Linked DNA regions of Homo sapiens: region 2 is linked to region 1. The links are contacts of gene promoters, found by promoter capture Hi-C in human tissues and cell types (Jung and others, 2019). All regions are on one chromosome and are shown on one strand. The core of a region is centred on a gene start or on the middle of the fragment in contact, and the rest is flanking DNA. Distances in the headings are between cores, read along the strand shown.

Region 1 (6,413 bases), core at 84-2,583:
CCCGCACTGCCTGAGCTCCCGCAGCCGCGCCTCGGTGCTCTCCTGCACTCCCCGCAAAGCCTGCACCTCGCCCAGTAGTCGACCCAGGTCCTCCGGGCGCCAGCGGCCGTCGTCGCCGCGCAGCGCGGGCACCTGCAGGCGGGAGGCACCGTCGGGACTGGGTCGCAGGAGCAAGGCAGGCAGTCCCAGCACCCCTCCTCCTCTTTGCTCATTCCCGCAGGCCGCCCCCACCTTGCGCCGCACGCGCTCCAGTAGCTGCTCGCGGCCGCGCACGAAGCTCGGGTGCTGGAACTCGACGTGGTCGCGCTCCGGCCTAAGCAGGCCGCCCTGCTCGATGCTCACCACCTTCCGAAAACCGTCTGGGGAGTGGGGCGTGGGGGCGTGGGTCGCCCCATCCCCGGCACCGAGTCCCCCATCCCCGCTCCCCGCCCGGCCGTAGGGACTCACACATGTTGAGTTGGCGCACGAAGCTCGCCATGTTGCTATGCTTGAAATACTGGGGCAGCACTTCCTTGGCGAAACGGCTCTGGTCGCTTACGAGGAAACTGGTCCCGCTCTACCAAGAACGCCGCCCGCCCACCGTGCGGGCGGAGACCAGGAGGGTGAGCGGTGCCCGCTCACGGCCAGTCCTGCGCTCCAGCGCGCGCACACACTCATGCTCACTCTTGGGTCCAGGCCTGCCGCTTACGGGGATATGGGTCGAGGCCAGGCCAGAACGGGCTCCGAGGCCTAGCCTGGAGCGACCACAGTGAGTCCCTACCCCCAGCCAGACCCTGACTCCATACTCAGTTCTCAGAAAGGAGAGGCTGACGGGGTTCCCAGCCCCGCAATGTGACCCTGAGCTAGACCAGCCCTTCCCATCTCCCGGCCTCTGTTTTCCCATCTGTCGGATGGGGTAGGGTGGGAACTAAATGGCCTCGAAGGTCCCTCGGACTCTAGGTCTTCAGAAGGCAGGCTCCTAACCCTTCTTCGGCCGCAGAGGAAACCCCCCTCTCGCACACCCCCTCCAAGGTGAACTTCTCTGAATGGCCAAATCCGGGGATCCACGGCCCAGTCTCAGGAGGGGGTTGGGCGGGCATGGGTGTTCACTGACGTGGAGGGACCCCGGGACCACAGGGGGAATCGAGGGGCCCCGGCCCTCACCGGGCTCCAGCGGATCAGGTGGTCTGTGCCTGGGTCCCCCACCAGCGCCCATAGCTTGCCGAGGAAGGCAGGCACGGGGCTGGGGCCTGGCTCCGTGGGCAGCGCAGCTGGCGCTTCCTGCATGGTGCAGTCTCGGCCCGGCTCTGCGCTCGGGCCCGGCCGCTGCGGGCTCGTCAAAGCCGCGGAAAGTGCTGCGTTTGCCGCCCGCTCCGCCCTACTCCGCCCCGGGGCGCCGGGTCAGGCGGGGGCCACGTGCAAGCCCGCGGGGCGGGGCTCGGACAGCGGCCGAGGCACCAGCAGGCAGAAAAGGCTGGCTGGATGGGATGTGTGGAGTGGAGTGGAGTGGAGGGGTGGGGTGGGGTGGAGTGGGGTGGGGTGGGGTGAGATGAGTGGGAGACTTGGGTTCGAGTCCCACCCCTCTCGGTCCCTCTATTTCCTTCTTTGTTCTACAGGAGAAATCGCCGGTGCGCGACCTGGTGTGGGCTGGGCAAGTCCTAGAAGGTAATGGCCAGAGGCACAGTGAAGCCCCAGGCAGGGCAAGCAGATAGGAAGGGGGGGCAGGGAAGCACGCCCCCTCCCGCCGAACCCCGGGACGTAGTCATTCCAAGGGTGTGAGTGCCCCGACCCTGACCCCCCGCAGCTGTGTCGTCCAGAGGCTCTTGAGGAAACCCAACCTCTGCCGGGATGGCTCCTCCGGTACCCCGCGCGTTCCCTGTCCTTCCCTTTCAGATCCGACCCCGCCTTTAATAGGACGCAGAAACACTGCAGGATTTGTTTATTTCACACTCACCCTTGAGGCCCGGCCCGCGCCCGTGCCCTCCCTCTCCCTGCGCCGGGGCCGCGGAGCTGCAGAGTCCGCAGAGGGGTGGAGGCAAGAGAGGGGGGCAGTGTGTCCAGGACCGAGCGGGTGGGGCGTCTGCAGAGGGTGAGAGCAGCGAGTGGTCTCAGGGCGCCCAGGACTGGTCCCGATGCCATCACAGTTCCCAACTCGGTAAAGACCCGGGGGGCAACAATCCCAAAAGAAGGCACTAGCACTCGGGGCGCGCCTGGACACCCCCCCCGTTCCCTCTCAGAGCGCTTACGTCCACGGGGACGGGGGAGAGAAGTCGCCCAATCACGCCACGAGCGTAGGCCTCCAGGGATGCGGCTCGCGCGTGAGCTTGAGGGTATAGGTGCGCAGGCGCGGGCAGTGCGCGCGGAAGGCGTCCAGCACCGAGTGGCTCACCACGCAGAAACAATGCACCTCGCGCAGGGCCGCGCAGCGCGCCGCCAGCTCCTCCAGCGCGGCGTTCAGCTCGGCCGAAGCGGCTGCGCGCACCTCGAGCGCGCACAGGGTTGCGGCGTAGTGGTGTGCTGCGAAGCGCACTGGGCCTACGGTGTCGCCTGAGAGGTTGAGGCGCAGCGCAGCCACGGGGACGGCTGGCTGCAGGACGCGCGTCACGCTCTCAGCGGGCAGCGCGGGCTCCAGCTCCAGCTCCACTGCCAGCCCAGGGTGGCGGCGGCGCAACGCGACCCAGGCTTCGTTGGGCAGCGGGGACGCGCGTGCATCTTCGGGGCACGCGCACCGCAGAGCCAAGAGCGCGAAAGGCGCTCGGTCTGGCGCCGCCAGTGCTTCGAGGATGGCGTGCGACAAACTGGCTAGGTGCAGGCCGAGAGCGCGCAGGCGCGGGCAGGCCTCCAGTAGCTCGAGCACTGAGCCGGGACCCACGCTGCCCACTAGGGTACTGTTGTCCAGAAAAAGGCTGTGGAGCTCGGGACAGCTGCGCGCCGCCTGCAGCACCAGCGCGTCGTCCAGTGTGAAGGACAAGCGCCGCAGGTCGAGGTGGCGTAGCTGGCTGGCCGCCCCGCATACAGCGTGCACAGCCTCCAGGACGTCGCGGCCCGCGTCGAAGAGCGGTTTTTCTCCGCGGCACTCCAGGCGCAGGCCTCGCAGCCCCGGGGCACGGCCCGCCAGAACCATCAGCAGCTCGATGGCCGCCCGGCGGCTCGGCTTCCTCGATGGCTCAAATTCCAGCCGTAGGTTGTGAATGTGGTCGAGGCAGGCGGACAGATAAGGTGGCAGCATGCCTTCCAGCTCACATTCGCAACTTGGGTTAGAGCCGTGCAGAAAAGGCCTCAGCTGAGTCCCTGCGACCAGCGGAGAAGCCTCTACCCACCCCTTAGCTGGGGTTCCAGCTGCCATCCCATTTCCTGCCTCCCTCCCCACGTCTCTGTTCAGACCACGACTGTTGCCCCAAAGGAGGGAACTCGCATCCTATCCTTTTAGAAGATTTCAGTGGCGTCTGCCACAGGATGAAACCTGGACATGGAGAGCCAATGATATTTTAGGAACTGGGCTTTCTCAGCTGTCTCTAAGGAGTCTTGGCATGGCCTCCGGACTGCTAGGTTCGAATTCTGCCTCTGCCATTCCCTAGCTGAGTGACCCGTGGGAAGTGATTAAGTCTCTTTGCCTCAGTTTCCTATCTGGGCAATGGAGGTAATGATAATACCTATCTACCACACAAGGTTTTCATAAGGATTAAATTAGTTAATATATGTAAGGCACTTAAAAACAATGGTTGGTATATACTAGGCAGTCAATACGTCAGCAATTATTATTATTATTTTGAGATAAACTGTTACTCTGTCGCCAAGCTGGAGTGCAGTGGTGCCATCTCGGCTCACTGCAACCTTTGCCTCCCGGGTTCAAGCGATTCTTGTGCCTCAGCCTCCCGAGTAGCTAGAATTATAGGCGCCCACCACCATGCCCGGCTAGTTTTTGTATTTTAGTAGAGACGGGGTTTCAGCATGGTGGCCAGGCTGGTCTCAAACTCCTGACCTCAGGTGATCCACCCGCCTCGGCCTGCCAAAGTGCTGGGATTACAGGCATGAGCCACCACGCCCGGCCAGCAATTATTTTTTAATATGGGGGAGTCAACCTGAATATCTACCTAGCCCACGACTCCACGGAGAAGGTGAGTGGGCGGTGGGGAGAGGAGTGTGGAGGAGCAGGCTCACCTGATTTTTGTGTCGTGCCACACGGCGCTGCAGGTAGCAGCGGCGGCCCAGGCCCTGCAGACCCTGGCGGCGGCAGCACGGTCTCTCAGGGACAGGTGGCGGAAGATGAGTGCCAGCACCTCCTCTGGCAGTCCCTCTCCAGGCTCGGCCATGGCCCAGATCCGGCTGGGGTGGGAGGATCCGCCACTCCCAATAGCTCCGGCCTGGAGAGAGACGGACGTCTCTGAGGTCGGGAAGGCGCAAAGTGTTGCAGGAAGACCGAGCTTAGGTGTACAAATGCTTGTGGCCTGAGGAACTGAGGGCCTCTCAGACAGCGTGGGGCATCAGATAACCCCGAAACTTGTTCACAAAGCAGATTTCACCGCCTCACCTACTAAATCAGGCTCTCCGGAAAGGGTAAGGCCCAGGAATCTGCATTTCAACAAGCCCCTGTGACTCCACAGGTTCCACGTTGAGAACTCCCCTCCCACTTTTTTTTTTTTTTTTCTTTTTTTTTGAGACAGGGTCTCGCTCTTTACCCAGGCTGGAGTGCAGTGGCGCAATCACAACTCACTGCACCCTCAGTCTCCCGGGCTCAAGCAATCCTCCCACCTCAGCCTCCCGAGTAGCTGGGACTACAGGGGCACGCCACCACGCCTGGCTAATTTTTGTAATTTTGTTGCAGAGACGAGGTCTCGCTTTGTTGCCCAGACTGACCTCGAACTCCTAGGCTCAAGCGATCGGCCCGCCTGGGCCTCCCAAAGTGCTGGGATTACGGGCATGAGCCACCGCGCCCGGCCTGAGAAACCCCATCTTAACCCCGCCGGTTAGTAGAAAGTGACTACAGGGTTAATAAGGCGGGAGCGTTAATGTAGGCTTTTCTTTGTCAGGGACCATGAGCCAATCAGGAAGCGAGGCGTGGGCGGGGCAAAGCTGGATCCACCCCTGGAGGGGAGGCTCCTTCCCCGCCTCCGCCTCGCCGGGGAGATGTCCCGGGTGCTTCCTAAGACAGCCCCACTGGATGAAAAAAAACTTGGGTCTCTGGGACCTGACGGTTCTGGGGCCTGAGGGGCTCAAGATTTAAGTTCCGACCCCTGAGCAGCCCTGGCTCCCGCTGAGCAATTTGGGTTCGGCTGGAACTCCGCAGACCCACCCTGGAGCGCAGCCTTTAGAGGGGGATGGGTTACTGGAAAGTGTGCGTCCTCTTTGAAGTTGCCAATCCTGTTTGTTTTTGTTTTGTTTTGTTTTGAGACGGAATCTAGCTGTGTCGCCCAGGCTGGAGTGCAGTGGCGAGATCTCGGCTCACTGCAAACTCCGCCTCGCGGGTTCAAGCGATTCTTCTGCCTCAGCCTCCCGAGTAGCTGGGACTCCAGGCGCGCGCCACCTCGCCGGGCTAATTTTTGTATTTTTAGTAGAGACGGGGTTTCACCATATTGGCCAGGCTGGTCTCAAACTCCTGACCTCAGGTGATCCACCTGCCTCGGCCTTCCAAAGTGCTGGGATTACAGGCGTGAGCCACCGCGCCCGGCCGCCAATCTTGTTTTAAGGTTCTTAAAGGTTTGTGTACACAAGGCTTCACACTACTCGCCAGTTAATGTTCCCATATCTTCCGGGCTAACAGTTTCTCCCGGAATTTGTGCCACGTGTTTCCTGGGGCTTCAGATACGTTCGGCCGGGCTTGTACCTGGGACCCATGGGCACCCCGTTTTGAGTGCCCACTGGTAGCAGCGATCTTGAAGCCGGATCCCCAGGGGTACCAGAAAATTCTGGTCTCCAGGGGGCGCCCCCTTGATTTACCGAAGTCTGGCAGCTGTAGCTCTTACGAGCCCCCCGCCTCGTAAGAATCGCAAACCCCCAAAGTCGGGTCTTCCTGCCGTCTAACCTTGGGCGCTGGTGTCTTACCTGCTCGGCGGACCAGATGGGCTTTGCCCGGGGCAGGGGACTGGCAGCAGAGGACAGCGGACGGGAAGCAGCCACCGGGAGCCCGCGGGGCGGGACGCGCGGGCGGACGGGGCGGCTCGGGCTAGGGCACCGCCCCAGCGCCTCCGCGCACACCCGGAAGCGGCGGAGTAGAGCGGAGCCTGGCGGGCGTGGGAACCCAGGCCCCGCCGAGGCGGCCAGGTTAGTGCAGCAGGTGGGTGGGTGGGCTCCCCGGTGCGGGCGGGAGAGGAGGTGGATCTTGGCTCCGAAGCGTGGGCGCGGCGCAGATGTCACCGGCGGCTGCTCCAGCCAGCTGGTGGCGGCGGTCTACTGAGCTGTTCGAACACCGTGGGAGGCGGGGGACGGTACGGAAT
Region 2 (6,331 bases), core at 2,543-5,042, 62 kb after region 1:
AGCCTCTCCATGCCTTAGTTTCTTCTGTAAAATCTGTAACAATCTCACAGATTTGTTAGGAGGTCTGTACTTGTGTGTCTGGCTTACAGGTAATTGCTTTGTGTATAACTAAAATTTTAAAACATCTAATAGTAACAGAATTGATGGAATCCACTGGCAGGATTTACAGATTGCATGTGGGAGATGAGAGAGACTGGGAGTCAAGAATAACGACATAGTTTTCCCAGCTTGGGTAGCTGGAAGGACGGTGATTGGAGGAACTGACATTGGCGTTTGGAAGGATGTCAATCCTTCTGGTAAAACTGTCACGTGATAACTTGGAAGGGAAGAAATGTAACAAGCTTGAAACATTACTTGAAGAACTTGGAAAACAATCTTAGTACCATGGTTATTTATTAATTGCATTTGCCAAGTTATTTTTTTTTCTTTTTTTTTTTTGAGACGGAGTCTCACTCTGTTGCCCAGGCTGGAGTGCAGTGGTGAGATCTCGGCTCACTGCAACCTCCGCCTCCCAGGTTCAAGCGATTCTCCTGCTTCAGCCTCCCCAGTAGCTAGGATTACAGGCACGTGCCACCATGCCCAGCTAATTTTTGTATTTTTAGTAGAGACGAGGTTTCACCATGTTGGCCAGGCTGGTCTTGAACTCCTGTCTTTAGGTGATCCACCTGCCTCAGCCTCCTAAAGTGCTGGGATTACAGGTGTGAGCCACCGCGCCCAGTTAGATTTTTTTTTTTAAAGCCAGTTTGAAAGCAGGAATGACAGGTAATGTGTACAGCAAATGAGGGATGGGGCTAAAAGTCATGGAAAATGGTGGAGCAGGGAACCCATCCTAATAGGCCTTACAAAGAACACTCCCCTCTGTTAGGGCAGAGGGCCCTCAAATGGTTTCCAGTGTCATTTCATAATTGTTACTGACCGGTGACTTCATTCTTCCCCTTTCTGAAGGCAAGTGCTTCCTGCAATTTTTCTGTCCCTGTCCCACCACTGTGTACTGGGTGCGTAGATCCTGGTCTCCACACACAATTTTAGCTCAATTGCCTGACTAGCAGGCACTTTTAGGTTTTCTTCCATGATGTGTATTTTCTTGAAGGAAGGAAAGTAAAATAATTGAAACAGTGGCCTGTTGTAGTCATCAGAGCAATTCACAAATATTCTGACTCCTGGGCAAAAAGGGTTGCATTTCCCTGCGCAACTGAAGTTGGGTGTGGCTGTGAATTGCTTGGTCCATTGAAAACAGAAGTCACGTGTATCAATTTCAGGTGAGTTTTCAAAGCCAATGCCTGTTTCATTACCTGTTTTCTTTCTTGGTTCTGTCACAATGGCTGGCAGTCCTCCAGTTCTGCTTTGTTAGCCTAGGTCAACCCCTGATGAGTATTTAGCATATAAGACATAAATCTTTAAGCCAATAAATTTTTTTGGTGTTTTAAAGCAACACACCAGCCCAGGCGTGGTGGCTCACGCCTGTAATCCCTACACTTTGGGAGGCCGATGCGGGTGGATCACCTGAGGTTAGGAGTTCAAGACCAGCCTGGTCAACATGATGAAACCCCATCTCTACTAAAAATACAAAAAATTAGCGGGCACCTGTCATCCCAGCTACTCGGGAGGCTGAGACACGACAGTTGCTTGAACCCAGGAGGCGGACGTTGCAGTGAGGAGAGATTGAACCACTGCACTCCAGTCTGGGCAACAGAATGAGACTCCATCTCAAAAAACAAACAAACAAAACAAAGCAACATAACCAGCCTATCCTGACTGATAAGAGAAATTGGGAAAACTGTCAATTATGCCTCCTGTACTGTTTATAGCTTTGAAATGTCTCCATGCCAACAAAGCTACCCTTAATCTTCCTGTGTTACTATATCGTATGATCAGTGGGACCAAGTTTCTGACTCCAGTCTTATTCTCCCCAAACAAAATTGAGTTTTCTCAAGCACCGATTCCATCAAGGTCATAAGCCCTCAATGGCTTCCTGTTCACCCTTGGGAATGGTCCAAATGTTTTATTTAACACGGTTGGAAAGGCCAGTCCAGCACTGCTTGTGACTCTTACCCTGCCCTCTGCTGGGTGGAATCTGCCCTTCTGGATTCATCTCACTGCTGCAGCCCCCTCTTTTCTGTTCCAGTCATACTCAGCTGCTCTTAGCTTCTCAAACTTGCCAAGCTATTGGCTAGCTACCTGCAATACCTTCTCTAGCTAGCTTAAGGTCTGCCATCCTTCAGATCTTAGCTCAAACATCTCTTTTTTTATTTTTGAGACGGAGTTTCACTCTTTCGCCCAGGCTGGAGTGCAGTGGTGCAATCTCGGCTCGCTGCAAGCTCCGCCTGCTGGGTGCATGCCATTCTCTTGCCTCAGCCTCCCAAGTAGCTGGGACTACAGGCGCCCGCCACCACGCCCAGCTAATTTTTTGTATTTTTTAGTAGAGACGGGGTTTCACCATGTTAGCCAGGATGGTCTTGATCTCCTGACCTTGTGATCCACCCGCCTCGGCCTCCCAAAGTGCTGGGATTACAGGCGTGAGCCACCGCACCCACCCTCAAAACATCTCTTTAGGGAAGCTTTTATTCACCACCCAGACTAGAATAGATGTACTATAAGAGCCAGTACTTCTAATGTAACTTAAACAGTGTTACTGCCTTTGGTCAGCTTTTTAGCTAGACTGTAGATTCCTTGTGAGCAGGGAACATGTTTATTTTGGACACTGGATATTTCCCCCCCTAAATGATAACCATACTTTTAGTCTCCAAAAAAAAAATAGAACTTCAACATTTTCCATTTTTATTTTTATAGGTAATATCTTGCTCTGGTGGCCCAGGATGGAGTGCGGTGGCAAGATCATAGCTCACTGCAACCTCAAAATCCTCGGCTCATGCGATCTTCCCACTCCAGCCTCCCAAGTAGCTGGGACTTAGAGGTGTGCACCACCATGCCTGGCTAATTAAGAAAAATATTTTTGTGCAGATGAAGGTCTTGCTATCTTGCCCAGGCTGGTCTTGAGCTCCTGGCCTCAAGCAATCCTCCTGCCTCAGCCCCCCAAAGTGCTGGGATTACAGATATGAGCTACTGTGCCTGGCCTTTTATTTTTATCTACAACATCTCCTCAACATTTCTGAAATCTGAATGAGGCCAATAACGACCTTAATTCTAAGTTGCTTAAATTTTCTAACCAAAAGCTGGGAGTTGACTAAAACAGTGACTTATCTGTTTCAGAATATTCCATATTTAAACAAACTAAACTGCCATTTCCATCCATGATTTCACCCTGTGACTGTCATTTTTTAGCTTTGGAACATTTCTGAAATGCCATATATGAATATATGATGGTGATGCAAGAAAAGGGGTTGATGCTATCTAGGGGGAATCATGTATTCAAATCTGCAAGACTGAAATCTTACCTTTAAAGAATGTTTAGATTAAAACACCAAAGGTATCTTTTTTTTTTGAGATGGAGTCTCGCCCTGTTGCCCAGGCTGGAGTGCAGTGGTGCGATCTTGGCTCACTGCAAGCTCCACCTCCTGGGTTCGCACCATTCTCCTGCCTCAGCCTCCCGAGTAGCTGGGACTACAGGCGCCCGCCACCACACCCGTCTAATTTTTTGTATTTTTAGTAGAGACGGGGTTTCACCGTTAACCAGGATGGTCTCGATCTCCTGACCTCATGATCTGCCTGCCTCGGCCTCCCAAAGTGCTGGGATTACAGGTGTGAGCCACCGCGCCCGGCAAAACACCAAAGGTATCTTATACTCAGTTACGTATATTTGGTAATATCACCATGGTGGTTTAGAAAGATGTCCACAAATGCTTTGACATCCCCGCCTTCAACAGATGAAGCTTAATATTCCTCCCCCTTTGAGTGTGGACCAGACCCAGTGACTTGATTCTAACATACAATATGGCAGCCCAAGATTCAGTTCTAAGACTGTGCTTTTGGCTGGGCATGGTGGCTCACACCTGTAATCTCAGCACTTTGGGATGCCGAGGCGGACGAATCACTTGAGGTCAGGAATTTGAGACCAGCCTGGCCAACATGGTGAAACCCCGTCTCTATGAAAAATACAAAAATTAGCCGGGCATGTTGATGGGCACCTGTAATCCCAGCTACGTGGGAGGCTGAGGCAGGAGAATCGCTTGAACCCGGGAGGGGGAGGTTGCAGTGAGCTGAGATTGCAGCACTGCAGTCCAGTCAGTCTAGGCAACAGAGCGAGACTCCATCTCAAAAAAAAAAAAAAAAAAAAAAAAAAAAAGACTGTGCTTTCAACTTGGGTGTGCGCTCTCTTGGATCACTTGCCTTGGGGGAAGCCAGCTACCCTGCTGTGCACTGTCCTATGGAAAGACCCAGCTGGGCATGAAATGGAAGCAGGTCTCTGTCCAACATCTAGCAAGGAACATCTGCCTTTCATCTAGCAAGCTGCAAAGAACCGAGGCCAGTCAGTGACCACATTAGTGGGTTTGAAAGGGGATCTTTCATCCAGTCAATCCTTGAGATGACTGTAGCCCAGGATGACTCTAACCTTATGAGGAACTCTGAACCAGAACCATTGATCTTAGCTACTTCCAGATTTGTGACTCACCTGTGGGATAATACGTATTTATTGTTTTAAGCTGCTAAGTTTTGGGGTAATGTGTTATGGATAATACAATGGTTTATAGATTGAAAAGCTCCTCATTGCCAAATGAGGCATAAATCAAGTAAGATATTTTTCACCAAGCAGCCCCGAGCTAGCATATCCAATTATGTTTCTAGAAGTGATATACTTACTAAAACCATGCTGTTACTGCTCAATTTTTTGAAATTAACTCTCAGAGCATGAATCCTACTCTTTGGAATTTCCCTTAATGGTGTCAATTCAGAATTTAAAGGCATTTTTGTCATTTGCAGTAAGTCTTGTGGTTAATGAGTGAATCTGTTTATCATGTGTCAAGCTTAAGGCATACTTTCAAGGAAAAGGGCTTACTTTTCTGTTGTAGGAAAATGCCAGGAGTCTTAAGAATGTTTGATATAACACCAGCACAATCAAAACGGCTGTATATTTCCAAAACAACTAGCTTGAAAGATGGAACTAATTTGGATGTGTAATTTAAAATTCTTTCTCCCAACATCACTACTTTATGGTCATATCTCACAGGATGGGTAAATCAAGCCAGATTTCTTGAAAACCATAATATACACTGGGGGATTTGTATACCTTGTGATACCTATATTTAAAGTAGTCTTCTTTGGAATCAACAGAAATTACCACTAGATGCCACTGTTGTTGCTTTCTTAGAAATTACTGGGTTAGGTCAAGAAAGAGCCAAGACCCTGTTTTTACTACACAGAAGTTTATTGTGAAAGTAAATTAAACAAACAAACACACAGTATGGCCAATGGTGGCAAAAGCAATCTGGTAGCTTAAGGCAAGTTTTAATGGAGATGAATTTAGAAAAGATGATGCAATGATGTAATTTTGTTTAAATATAGATTATGAAAAAATATCAAATTGCATCAATAACTTAATAGAAGTAGTTTTCAAAGCCTGTACTACTGGAGAAAAAGGGCTCATGATCTTAATGCCAGCATTAAGACAGACAGAAGCAGCATGGTGCTAAATGACAGAAAAATCCAGTATTTACATTAGGATGGTAACAGGAACATTTAAGAGCATTTGATCTTATTTACTGGTGGACCGAAAGCCCTTAGCTAGACAATAGAGGAAAATGTACCATCATCATGTTATTTAAAAAAATTTAAGTGCAGAAGTAAAAAACCAAGGAGCTCTGTAATAAAGTAACATAAAACACCACTGTAAGGATCACTTAAAAAGCGATTCCCTCAGGGGAAATTAGGGCACTGAGTGTGTAAACATGTGAGCTGTACAACACCAAAACCAACCAAATTCATTCATAGTACTTATAGTTATGCAAGATCAGCATGGCCTTTAATGACGCATTATTGTTTGTAACAATTTAAACACACTCCTTTCCATGCATAACTTCAAATATATAACAAATACTTTTATTTGATACAGGATATCTGTTTATGAAATAAGACCTATATACAATGAAAGTAACACCTCCCTCATCAGTCAAGTACAGTTATATGCTTTTTAAATGCAATGACCTTATTCAGACTTCAGTCCATTTTCTGAATTGACTGTGTCAGTTTTTCACCCTTTAAAATAATGCCATTTAATGATAAAATACATTTTTCAAAAATTCAGAAATGTAGTAACATTTAATAAATGTGACCATGAAAAATATTTGTAAGGAGGTGCCAAATGACTTAGCACTGTTTTCCACTCTGTATCTAAAAAAAAAGTTGCAATTTGACAGTAAGCCTATTTAAAAAATAT

Evidence for each region. Contacts are between HindIII fragments. The study calls those that stand out against the background at their distance.
Region 2: a fragment that was not itself captured here is called in contact with the fragment with the promoter of HSF4 in region 1 in 6 of the 25 tissues and cell types used here (H1 embryonic stem cells, IMR-90 fibroblasts, dorsolateral prefrontal cortex and 3 more).

Annotation. Positions count from the first base shown.
Region 1 is chr16:67,159,665-67,166,077 of GRCh38, reverse strand. HSF4 (heat shock transcription factor 4) reads right to left here and starts at 1,333. Exons shown (of 13, transcript NM_001374675.1): 1 at 1,144-1,333; 2 at 448-556; 3 at 232-359; 4 at 8-132. The coding sequence starts at 1,266. It overlaps FBXL8 (F-box and leucine rich repeat protein 8), which reads right to left and starts at 6,121. Exons shown (of 3, transcript NM_018378.3): 1 at 6,022-6,121; 2 at 4,141-4,343; 3 at 1,904-3,230. The coding sequence starts at 4,292. The coding sequence ends at 2,258. It overlaps TRADD (TNFRSF1A associated via death domain), which reads left to right and starts at 6,169. Exons shown (of 5, transcript NM_003789.4): 1 at 6,169-6,240. RefSeq lists silencers at 1,229-1,468, 1,218-1,512, 2,494-2,613, 4,891-4,980, 6,001-6,140 and enhancers at 1,710-2,658, 2,964-3,063, 2,659-3,607, 3,681-4,193. The HindIII fragment of the contact is 14,459 bases long and covers 1-5,822 here.
Region 2 is chr16:67,100,032-67,106,362 of GRCh38, reverse strand. CBFB (core-binding factor subunit beta) reads right to left here. Exons shown (of 6, transcript NM_022845.3): 6 at 5,305-6,331. Among named protein-coding and RNA genes, the nearest start is that of PHAF1, 6.7 kb to the left of the region's middle. The HindIII fragment of the contact is 4,683 bases long and covers 1,451-6,133 here.